Regions from separate parts of the Homo sapiens genome. Here all the other regions are linked to region 3. The links are contacts of gene promoters, found by promoter capture Hi-C in blood cells and fetal thymus (Javierre and others, 2016). All regions are on one chromosome and are shown on one strand. Each heading gives the region's core, a stretch centred on a gene start or on the middle of the fragment in contact. The rest is flanking DNA. Distances are from core to core; before and after follow the strand shown.

Region 1 (2,967 bases), core at 431-2,930, 610 kb after region 3:
AATAATAGCACGTTACTCAGCATGGTTGGAAGGATTAAGTGAGATAATGCCTGAAGAATACTCAGCACAGGACCTGGCACATGGAAGAATGTGCTCATTTTGGCAAATGTGTTTATCCTAATTTGTAGGCTTTTTTTTTTTCCAGGATTTTAGTTCTACATTGCACATTTTTGACCCTTCAATTAGACCTTCTTTTTATTCTTCTCCTTTGTCTTTGTCTTTCTTCTTCTGACAGGATCTCACTGTGTTGCCCAGGCTACAGTGCAGTGGCGAGATCACAGCTCATAGCAGCCTCCACCTCCTGGGCTCAAGTGATCCTCCCACCTCAGCCTCTTGAGTAGTTGGGACCACAGGCACATGCCCCCACTCCCAGCTAATTTTTTAAATTTTTAATAGAGAAGAGGTCTTGCTATGTTGCCAAGTGGGTCTCGAACTCCTGAGCTCAAGCAATTCTCACCTTGGCCTCCCAAAGTGCCCAGCCCACTATTATTAATATTTTATAAATGCAACATTGCTTATATTTGTACACAGTTTTTACCTATATTTCTCATCATTCCTTTTTGCTTCTCAGAATGTCCTTCTGGGATCATTCTCCTTTTCCTTAAAGTACATCCCTGGGAAGATTCATAGAGTGTTTTATTACTGAATTATCTCAGCTTTGGTTTGATAATGTCTTCATTTTGGTTTTGTTCTGATATACAGTTTCACTTGACATGATTTTGGGGTTCACGGTTATTTCTTTTTCTTTTTCTTTCTTTTTTTTTTTTTTGAGACAGAGTCTCACTCATCGCCCAGGCTGGAATGAATGCAATGTTGTGATTATGGCTCACTGAAGCCTCTATCTCTTGGGCTCAAGTGATCCTCCCACCTCAGCCTCCAGAGTAGCTGGGACTGGAGCTGCCACATGCCTGGCTAATTTTTTGTATTTTTTTTGTAGAAACGGGGTTTCACCATGTTGCCCAGGCTGGTCTCAAACTCCTGGCCTCAAGCAATCCACCTACCTTGGCCTCCTAAAGTGCTGGGATTACAGATGTGAGCCACCACGCCCAGTCTCATGGTTATTTTCAAGTAATACTTTGAAATATAATTCCGCTGTCTTACAGCTTCACTGTTGCTATTGAGGAATCAGCTGCCATCTAATTTTTGCTTCTTTTTCTAGTTAATCTGTCAACTTTAGGTGTTTTGCTTCATGTTATGCTTGTATTCCACTATATTATTTTTACAAAATGTCAAACACACTTATTTAATATTCCATACCGATCACTCTAGTATTCAGCCTTTGCAGGTTTAAGTCAGCAGCTTTTTGTCTCAGCTGACACTTACTCATGTCTTATTTTCCTGTTTATTTAGTGGTTTTTATTTATGGTGAATTCTTGTATCTGGAAGCTTTATCCTGTGGGAACTCTGTGTTAAAGTGCAATGCCCAGGTAGGTGAATTAGGAAGATTGAGACACTTCCCACATGAAACCACTTTAAAATAAATTTTATGTTTAAAGCTTTCAAGCCCAGTAGCAAGTGTACATTTCAGGTTCACACACTTGTGAGTTGGAGCATATGGTTGGGCAGTTCTGAGCATTTCTCCATACTTCACCCAGAGCCAAGCCTGAGATAGGTAACATGGTGTTATGTAGGTACATTTTTCCCTTGTATAATCATTGTGTTGCTTTTCAGGGGTTCTGGCTTCAGATTGGGCATCTCTTATCTGGCCTCCAGCCCTGCTCAAGCCCCAGGCTTTTTATCTTCTTCCCTTGTATGTGGCTCATTCAAATTCAAACCGTAAGCCATGGAGGGTTGGCAGACATTCTCCACCCCCACCCATAAAAAGGCCTGCTCTACCCTGTTTCCCTCCTGCAATCAAGCTTTCTTACAGTTCGGCCTTCTTCTTATTCTTCTTTTTTTTTTTTGGAGATAGAGTCCCGCTCCATCGACCAGGCTGGAGTGCAGTGGCGTGATCTCAGCTCACTGCAACCTCCATCTCCCAGGTTCAAGCAATTCTCCTGCCTCAGCCTCTGGAGTAGCTAGGATTACAGGTGCATGCCATCATGCCCAGCTAATTTTTGTATTTTGGTAGAGACGGGGTTTCACTAGGTTGGCCAGGCTGGTCTCAAACTCCTGACCTCAGGTGATCTACACACCTCGGCCTCCCAAAGTACTGGGATTACAGACGTGAGCCACTGCGCCCAGCCAGTTCTGTCTTTTATTAACTTTACCATCAGCCAAGCAGAGCTTTGAAATAATAAGACAAATAATCCAATTTAAAAAGTGGGCTAAAGATTTGGACAGACATTTTACTAAAGAATGAACAGGCATGGTGGCTCATGCCTGTAATCCCAGTGCCTTGGGAGGCTAAGTCAGGGTGATTGCTTGAGCCCAGGAGTTTGAGACTAGCCTAGGCAACATAGTGAGGCTCCGTCTCTACAAATATAAAAAATAAAATTAGCTGGGCCTTGTGGTGCACGGCGGTAGTCCCAGCTACTAGGGAGGCTGAGATGGGAAGATCTCTTGAGTCAGGGAGTTCAAGGTTACAGTGAGCTATGATCATGCCACTGCACTTCAGCCCGAGCAACAGAGCAAGACTTGTCTGAAGAAAAAAAAAAAAAGATATACAGGGATAGCAAATAAGCATATGAAAAGATGCCTAACACTATTAGTCATTAGGGAAATGCAAATTAAAACCACAATGAAATGCCACTATATGAGAATGGTTAAAAATCAAAAAGACTGACAATATCAAGTATTGTCAAGAATGTGGAACAACTGGAACTCTCCTACATTGCTGGTAGAAGTGTAAAATGGTGTAGCTGCTTTTGGAAACAATTGAGCAGGTTTCTTATGAAGTTAAACATACACATACCATATATATTAGTTTTCTATCGTTGTAACAAATCATCACAAACAGTGGCTTATAACTACATTTATTTGTTAGCTCACAGTTCTCATGGTTCTATAGGTCAGCAGGCTTGAACA
Region 2 (2,713 bases), core at 160-2,659, 570 kb after region 3:
GGAGAATGTCATGAACCTGGGAGGCAGAGCTTGCAGGGAGCTGAGATCGCGACACTTCATTCCAGCCTGGGCGACAGAGTGAGACTCTGCCTCAAAAAAAAAAAAAAAAAAAAAAGATTATTCACTAAGGGTCCCTCTGTGGTAGGCAGGCATGCTCCTAAGAGATGAGGAATAAAGCAGTGAACAAAACATACAGAAGTTACATTCTACTAGGGTAGACAGACAATTACAGATAGACAACTAAAACTATAGACCATGTCCAGTAAGTGCTGCCAGGAAAAATAAAACAGCTTTAAAAGAGGATTGGGAACAACTGATGGTGGACTTGGGTGGGCTGGTCTGAACCAGAAAGTCACAGTTTTAAATAGGATGGTCAAGGAAAGCCTCACTGAGAAACACTTTCTGTGAGAAGATCTGGATGGGCCCATCAAGTGTGCCATGGGCTGTCTGGGAAAACAGCATCCTTGGTAGTGTTTGGAACAGTGGGTGCAAAGGCCCGGGGACTCCTGGATCTAGTGCTTAGTGGCTGTTTTGGATCTGCTGACTGTGATGGGCACAATATATCGAACTGTCATCATTAATTCCATTTGTTCTACTTGCTGTTAGACTCTTTTAACTTTCTTTTTTTTTTTTTTTTTTTGAGATAGGGTCTCTGTCACTCTGGCTGGGATGCAATGGCATGATCATGGCTCACCGTAAACTTGACCTTCCAGGCTCAGGTGGTCCTCCCACCTCAGTCTCCTGAGTAACTGGGACTACTGGCGCCCACCACTATGCCCAGCTAATTTTTGTATTTTTTGTAGAGATGGGGTTTTGCCATGTTTCCCAGGCTGGTCTCAAACTCCTGAGGTCAAGTGATCCACCTGCCTTGGCCTCCCAAAGTGTTGGGATTAGAGGTGTGAGCCACCACTCCCAGCCTAGATTCTCTTAACCTTGAGGTACATTTTCTCCCCCACTGTTTAGAGATTGATGCTTTGATTGTAATGTAGAGACTTGACACTTTTTAGAATACAGATACAATGCTGGTTATAGTGGAATTCAAATGCAACAAGTTGGCCTGTGGCCCTGTGCTTAAACAATCACTGTGGTGCGGGATGCCTGGGGAAGGGTGTGGGGTGAGGAATTGTCTTTGTTGCTCTGGGGTTTCACTAAAAGACTGACCAATTAGATCTGGGCTTGGCAACAAAAAGGGGTACGTGGAGATGGCAGAGGAGATTCACAGAGAGTAACTGAGATAATAAAAGGGCTGACTGGACAATAAACCCAGAGGGGACATGCTAGGAACTGAGGATGCAACTACGTGGTTTGATGAAGGGAAGCTTCTATGCTCATACCCATTTCTTCTGAGAACAAACTCAAAGAAAACAGGCTTAACTTGCGGCACGATGACTTTAGGGATGTTTATGAAAAGGAGCTTCTATATACTATAGGAAGGCTTGTTAAACATTGCAGACTGTGTGACTCCCAGTCTCTGAAATTACTGAAATGAAGAAGCTTATGAAAACAAAAATCCTTTCAACCTTGTCATCAGGCTCACTTATTTTCAGAACTATATCATCATGAAGGAAATCTACTGTTTAAAAAATAAATAAGAAGTACCAAACAATAGCTTAGAATGCCTCTCCAGAATTGTGCCTAAGAACAAAAAATCTGGGTACATTTTCTGAAAGCACAGACTGTCTGATTTCTGGGGAATCCCCATACAACTCAGTTATACAGCTATGCATTTCTCACTTAAATATTTTACGTTTAAAGTAACCTGTGTTCCTCATTATTGCATTTTTAAGCATCCACTCGGGGATGGATGTTCAATTTAAAGTGTTATCTCTTTCTCCAGGATTGTCCGGGACACAGGGATGGCCCCCAAGGCCGTGTTTGTGCTATATGATCTTGCTCATGATTAATCCAAGCTAAGCCAATAATTTTTCTCAGACTGTTTAGCCATAGATGACTGATCTGGAAAAGAGGGGTTGGGGAAAACAAGGGAGGCCCCAACTCAAACTAAGCCCATCATTGGACTTTTTGAACTAAAACTAAGGGAAAAGAACCAATCCTTCCTGCTGCTTGACTCCATAAGATAGGAGGTCACCAGCTTTAATCATCTGTATTCCTGCCAAGTGAAAAAAGCTAAGCTTCAGAAGAAGAGAATAAAGCTAAAAGGCATAGAGAAGGAGAAATAAGAGACAGAGAAAAAGAATAGCATTCCAGGCTGGGCGCGGTGGCTCACGCCTGTAATCCCAGCACTTTGGGAAGCTGAGGTGGTGGATCGCTTGGGGTCAGGAGTTCGAGACCAGCCTGGCCAACATGGTAAAACCCTGTCTCTACTAAAATACAAAAATTGGCTGGGCATGATGGCGGCCACTTGTAACCCCAGCTACCCGGGGTGCTGAGGCAGGAGAATTGCGTGAAACCAGGAGGCAGAGGTTGCAGTGAGCTGAAATCGTGCCACTGCATTCTAGCCTGGGCAACAGAGTGAGACTCCATCTCAAAAAATACAAAATAAAAAAAGAAAAGAATAGCATTCCAGACCCTGGTTGCAGCTGTCCCTAATGTCCAAATGCATCTCTGAGTCTTGTCAGATGCCCTAGTATTCCTCCCAATGACATCCATCTTTTTTCTGAGTTAGTTTGAGTTTTGTTTCTATTTCTTGTCATGAAAAGATGGTTAACAGTAGATTCTGGAGTCGGGCCCCATAACTTATATGCTTTGAGAT
Region 3 (3,046 bases), core at 475-2,974:
TCTGGCCCTTGCTGACCTTCGCAGCTACTTCCTTGAGAGATTAAGAACCCAGACCATGAAGTCAGTTTTGTCTGGGTTCAAATTCCCACTGCCCCACCTATTAGCTTCAAAACTTGAACAAACTTCTGGACCTCTCTGTGCTTCAGTGTTCTCCCGTGTAAAACACGGACGGTCACAATGCCCACCTCACAGGATTGTCAGGAAGACTGAATGAGCTAACACAGGTAGAGTGCTCAGGACGGCACCTGGCACACGGTAAGCATTCTATCAATGTTAACCATGATTTTTATTTCTCCAATTCATTATGCCTTCTCCAGCATTCCGGCCCTTGCATCCACTGTTCTCTCCATCTCAGACACTCTTTCCAACACACTCTGATCATGCTACAAGGTAGTCTTCAGATGTAGGTAACAGCCCCAGCGGCACCTGAAAACTTGTTCAAAAGACAAATGCTCAGGCTCCACCCTAGACCTACTATATTAAAAACTCTAGGGCTCAACTCCAGCAATCTGAAGATTTTTGTTTTGTTTTTTGATAGAGTCTCGCTCTGTTGTCCAGGCAGAAGTGCAGTGGTTCCATCACGGCTTACTGCAGCCTGAACCTCCCGGGCTCCGGCGATCCTCCAGCCTCAACCTCCTGAGTAGCTGGGGCTACAGGTGTACCACGCCCAGCTCACTTTTGTATATTTTATAGAGATGGGGCTTCACCATGTTGCCTAGGCTGGTCTCAAACTCCTAGGTTCAAGCAATCCGCCCGCCCTGTCCTCCCAAAGTGCTGGGATTAAAGGCATCAGCCACTGTGCTTGGCCAGCACTCTGAGTTTTAACAAACTCAGCATTCCTCCATAGGATTCTGATGCCCAGTTAAGGCTGGAAAACCAAGGCACCATCCGTGATAAATTGTACTTAGATGCTTATTTTTCTCTATCCCCTGTTAGGCTCTACGTTCCACAATGGCAGAGAAATGTCCATCTTGGTCTGTTCACCTCCTTTGTAGGTGTTGACAAATACGAGCCATCACAAACTGGAAAGGGGTAAGCTGTATTTCGTAGGACACATCATCTAATTCTGTGCTCCTCTTTTCTGTTTCCCCAAATCAACACCCAGGTATTTCTAAAGGCTTGCCTAAACGTTCCAGCTTGTTCTCAACCTTGAAGCCAGGCTTAGGCCTAAGTTGTAAAGGCGGGAGGGGAGACCCTGGAGGTAGAGGGGCAAAGGCAAGATGCTTGCGTCGCAGGGGCCCTGCATGGCCTGGAGCAGCATAGGGGCCAAGATGGTCTGCGCTCTCCCTAGATTGGAGTTTCTCTCCTTCATCATCTTTGGAGGAAGCACAGATAACTGAGGAAAGTCTGTATCTGCACAGCCACCCGAACTCCTGCCTCCTAATAAACACCTCTGAGGGAGAGGAAACTCTCTCTCTCTCTTCTCTTCCTCCCCAGCACCCCTCGCCCCCCCACCGCCATTTCTCACTCCTCTACTCCCCTCTCTCTCCCTACCCACCTCTGACCCCTCCTCCAGTCCTGCCGCCCGGTAACAAAACCGGGGTTCCCGCCACACGCACCCGGTAGGGCTCAAGACGCTTTATCGGCGACAATGGCTGGCTGAATGGGAGGCCTGAGGTTCTGAAGGAACCGGGGTGCTGGCGACCGGGACCTCGAGGCCGCTGCTGGGGAGGACGCTGGCCAGCGTGCAGGGGGCGGAGGCGGGGCGTGCCGGGAGGCTCCCATCTCCCGCCCCGCACAACCCGGGCAGGGCCGCCGCTCCGCCGCCGCCGCAGATCCGGCTCTCACCCTCGGCTCCCGAGGCCCCGCGGCGCCTCCTTCTGCGGACTCTGCGGGACCCTCCCCGGCAGGCGCTGTGCCCTGGAGAAGGCACAGTGGCTCAGGCATGGCCGCGGGGACGGCGGCGCGGAAGGCAGCGCCGGTGCTGGAGGCCCCCCCGCAGCAGGAGCAGGTACTGGCGCGGGGGCGCGGGCGTGGGGGACGCCAGGCCGGGGTCCCGGGGCTCACGCTGGTGCCGGGCAGGCTGCACAGACTGGTCTCCAAGACCCCGGGCCCCACCGGGGAGAACCGGCCCTGGAAAGACGTGGGGACGGACGCATGACCTTCTGGAAGATGCCACCGTGCGGGGTGCCAGTCCCTCCTCCACTCCCTCCCTCCCCACTTCTGTGCCCTCCCCGCTACCTTCCTTTCCTCCTTCTGATCCTCTTCCTTCGCTCCATCCCTCTTCTCGCATCCTCGCACTTTCTCTTCCAGGCTCACCCCTTCCACTCCCGCCCTCCTTTGTGACCGCCTGTGCCCTCCTCCCTCCTCGGCGGAAGCCCCCAGAGCCCAGGGTCAAGGTCGTAAGCTGCGAGAGAGGGGAAGGGGTGTACTGCAGGCTTTTGGCTAGACCGCCCTGGTTCTCAAACTCGAGTGTCATCAGAATCACTCGGAGGGCCTGTTACCACGCAGACTGCTGGTCTGTGCCCAGGGTTTCTGATTCAAGATGTGTACCCTGATCGTCAGCTTGTCTTGCCTGGTGCTCAACCTAGCCCATTTCTGCTTCTGCTGGCGTCAATTGCAAACCCAATCTTAATTTATTCTTCGTTCATAGGACAATTCTTCTTAGGCTACATCCAGGTACCAGGAGGATTTGGGGGTGGAGGAGGGTAGGTCTTACCTGGAGGAACCCAAATCCCATCCGTAAAACGAGGACAAAAATAACTCTTAAGGGCAAAGATAACTCTTAAACAACAACAAAAATCACTCACAGAGCGGGTAGGAAGAGATTAATGTCCCAAAATAGGTTCAGGCAAAGAACTGTAGGATTTCTGAGAAGGGCTTGCTCCTGACTAACCCCCTTCTCCTCCAACCCGTGAGGGCGTGGCATTCGAGCTGGGTGTTGGGGAATGGACAGGATCTGACCTCATGGGCCAGAGAATTCTAGATGGAGGGAACAACAGTACCAAATGGCTTGGAGATTTTTTTTTTTTTAATATTGGGATGGATGGCCATGGGACAAGGCAGAGAGAGGGGACTGTCCACTCTGACTGCCAGAAACCTAGGG
Region 4 (2,832 bases), core at 136-2,635, 910 kb after region 3:
TCATTAAAAATACAGTCCACTAATGTTATGGTAGGTAGTAAGTTGCTATATTTTAAAATATAAATTGTAAAACACTTAAAATCTGTTCCATGAGCCTGCCTACCTATGCTGATGCAGAATGACAGGGGATAGTAATAATGATATGTAAAGGTATGTGATTTTATTTTCCCTCCGTATACTTGCAGAAATGCGTAAAATTGGTAATCTGGATCAGGTTTGGGAATCTGTAGTTGGACAACATGCCAAAAAAGTGTCAGGGCAGATAAAAGACATTTTAGACTTAGTATAACCCAATCTACACCTTAGTCTCAGATTTCATTAACATCTTCATTTCTAATGCCTTTCATCTTTCATACCCCATATTCCACTCAGGCAACCTAAACTCAAATTGCCACTCTTAGACCTTGTCATCACTTCGGAAGCAACACTTCTAGATTCTCACTTTAAATAAGTTTAATAACTCACTTTATGATCACAATATCCTCCTGTATCTTATTCCATCTAATCAAGAGAGTAAATCTAACATTTTTATTGATTTTTTTCCATTTACCACCATACACACACACACCTGCCTGCCACAGACACACAATTTCAATCTTCTTTTCTCCCTCTCTCCCATTCATTCAACAATATTTAACAAGAACTTACAAGTACCTTTTGGTGGTTCACTGCCTACCCTCTTGGCCTCACCCACTTAGTCTAGATTCTAAGTAGTTCAAAAGCTTGAATCATGTACCAACTTGCATCAAAGAAATACTGAATTCATTCACATACTATCACTGTGGAAATATTTATATGTATCTACATTCAAAATAATTCCTTCAAAAAATTTAAAAACGACATATTCCTAATAGCTTTTGTTTATAAATAACGACACACTCTCAGATTATAATTTAAGACAGATAAGCCTTCAACCTTTCATTATGAATTGTATTTTCAACAAAATTCCTCCAAGAAATAAAAAAAAACATATTACTAATAGCTTTTGTTTATAAATAAGGGCACACTCTCAGATTATAATTAAGACAGATAAGCCTTCAACCTTTCATTATGAATTGTATTTTCAACAGGACTCTCAATCCAGAATTAATTTAATGTATGTGTATATTAAAAATATACTTAAAATTTTAATTTGTAGTAATAGTATTAAAAGTATAGCCTATAGCTGAAAAGCAAACAGTATTAAAATGAATCTAGATTTGTATGGGTTAAACAATCCTTGAAAACCATTTGCCATACCTCTAAAAGGGATCAACATACATATTTGGTCAAAACTGGCTCTCTGAAAAAGCCCCCATCAAATCATTATTGCCATTGACCGAGCTACTACATTTTTTATGTGTGAGTAACGTGGAAACATTATATTGCATTCCTATATAGAATGGAGACAAACTGTAATCACATGCTATGAAAACCCTAGGGTAGGATGGCTGAAGGAGAAAAGATGTCAACTTTTAAGTCTATTTACTAGAATTCATTCTTTTATTGAGCAACTACTATGAACCAAAACTTGTGCTGTGTATACACACTATCTCTGACCTAACAGTGATTCCAATCTCTTGGGAAAAGGAGATAAATAAGTTACAACATGTGACTGGTGGGGGTAGGAGTTGGAGGAACAGTGTTCCAACAATTTCTTGTATTTCTTTCCCAAATCTTCTGCAGATCGTAGTGTATGATATTGCAGACTGCTAAGTACAAGGGAATGAAGAAACGACTTAGCTCAACAAAATCATTAAAAATAAAACTATAACAACAAAGACTCACACTCACAAACCCAAATACCACATGCAGGGAAATTAAGGACACAAGATGTATCAAATATAAGATTACAATATCTCTTCCCTGGTTTTTCAGAGAAGTCTAAAAATCTGGTTTCTAGTCCTCGTCCTCGTTCTTACGTGAATAAACATTCATTTATTCACCATTTATTGAAAGGCCCTCTTTGGTAGTAAGTGCCAAAAACTGTTACCAAACCCTGGAAATAAGGTAATGAAAGAGAGCGCTCTTGCACTCACTGCAGTTATAGTCAAATCACATAAGCTTTTGGTACAGCTATTTAATTAATACTGGGTAATTCCATAACAACTTCAAGGGCCTTTTTTCTCCACTATAAAATAACATAGTGAGACTCCGAGATCTCTAAGGTAGTTCTACTGAACGAATACTCTGTGATATCACTTAAAACTTACAGGTGGGGGGTTCTTAAGACTCAGGGAACCTGAGAACCCTTATGCAGGGTTCAGGGGGTCCTAAGCTCACTAAATCTGAATGCAAAATTTGGTAGGTTTGTGTATGGACATTTTGCTAGAGAAAGTGTTCATAGGTAAAAACACCCTACATTAGTGGATTTTTGTTTTGGGCCTTCCACGGGAAAAATTCCATTTTAGCTAGGTCTAAGGAGGCAATGTCTTTAAATCTACCAACTATAAATTAATTCACAAGAAGTTTCAACCATGTGGAGTTAGTATGATTTGCTTCTGCTCTTAAACTCATGGTATGAGTTGCAAATTTCTAATTAATTTTGACCAGCACTATAACAGCATCCATTACAAATACTACACACAGTTTACAAATCAGAGTAATTTGAATTATTTAGATTAAATTGTAATACTCTTTTTTAAAAGAATAATTTTTAAAAGAATAATTTTAAAGAATAATTCTTAAAATAATAATTTTATTTTTATTTTCTAAATAAAATGCATTTATTTAGAAGCAGAAATATTTTTGCTGTAAAAAACTGAGATAATACTAAGATGATTATCCTCTCCACATCTGGCTGTTGCTGCCCCATCTTAATAAAAAGAAGACACCGGGTGCAGTGGCTCATGC

What was found. The method cuts DNA at HindIII sites, captures the fragments that hold promoters and counts their contacts. A CHiCAGO score of 5 or more calls a contact.
Region 1: a contact is called between a fragment that was not itself captured here and the fragment with the promoter of RNF175 in region 3, in 8 of 17 cell types (M1 macrophages, M2 macrophages, fetal thymus and 5 more). The highest score is 8.1, in M1 macrophages.
Region 2: a contact is called between a fragment that was not itself captured here and the fragment with the promoter of RNF175 in region 3, in 1 of 17 cell types (fetal thymus). The highest score is 6.7, in fetal thymus.
Region 4: a fragment that was not itself captured here is called in contact with the fragment with the promoter of RNF175 in region 3 in 4 of 17 cell types (naive B cells, fetal thymus, total B cells and 1 more); the score reaches 7.3 in naive B cells.

Annotation. Positions count from the first base shown.
Region 1 is chr4:153,145,930-153,148,896 of GRCh38, reverse strand. No RefSeq gene overlaps it. Among named protein-coding and RNA genes, the nearest start is that of TRIM2, 57 kb to the left of the region's middle. The HindIII fragment of the contact is 363 bases long and covers 1,499-1,861 here.
Region 2 is chr4:153,190,530-153,193,242 of GRCh38, reverse strand. It overlaps a transcript of TRIM2 not described here. Among named protein-coding and RNA genes, the nearest start is that of TRIM2, 13 kb to the left of the region's middle. The HindIII fragment of the contact is 175 bases long and covers 1,322-1,496 here.
Region 3 is chr4:153,758,702-153,761,747 of GRCh38, reverse strand. RNF175 (ring finger protein 175) reads left to right here and starts at 1,724. Exons shown (of 9, transcript NM_173662.4): 1 at 1,724-1,951. The coding sequence starts at 1,886. The HindIII fragment of the contact is 8,763 bases long and covers 1-3,046 here.
Region 4 is chr4:152,847,411-152,850,242 of GRCh38, reverse strand. The region is part of intron 2 of ARFIP1 (ARF interacting protein 1); the gene reads right to left. Among named protein-coding and RNA genes, the nearest start is that of ARFIP1, 69 kb to the right of the region's middle. RefSeq lists an enhancer at 2,538-2,832. The HindIII fragment of the contact is 1,321 bases long and covers 725-2,045 here.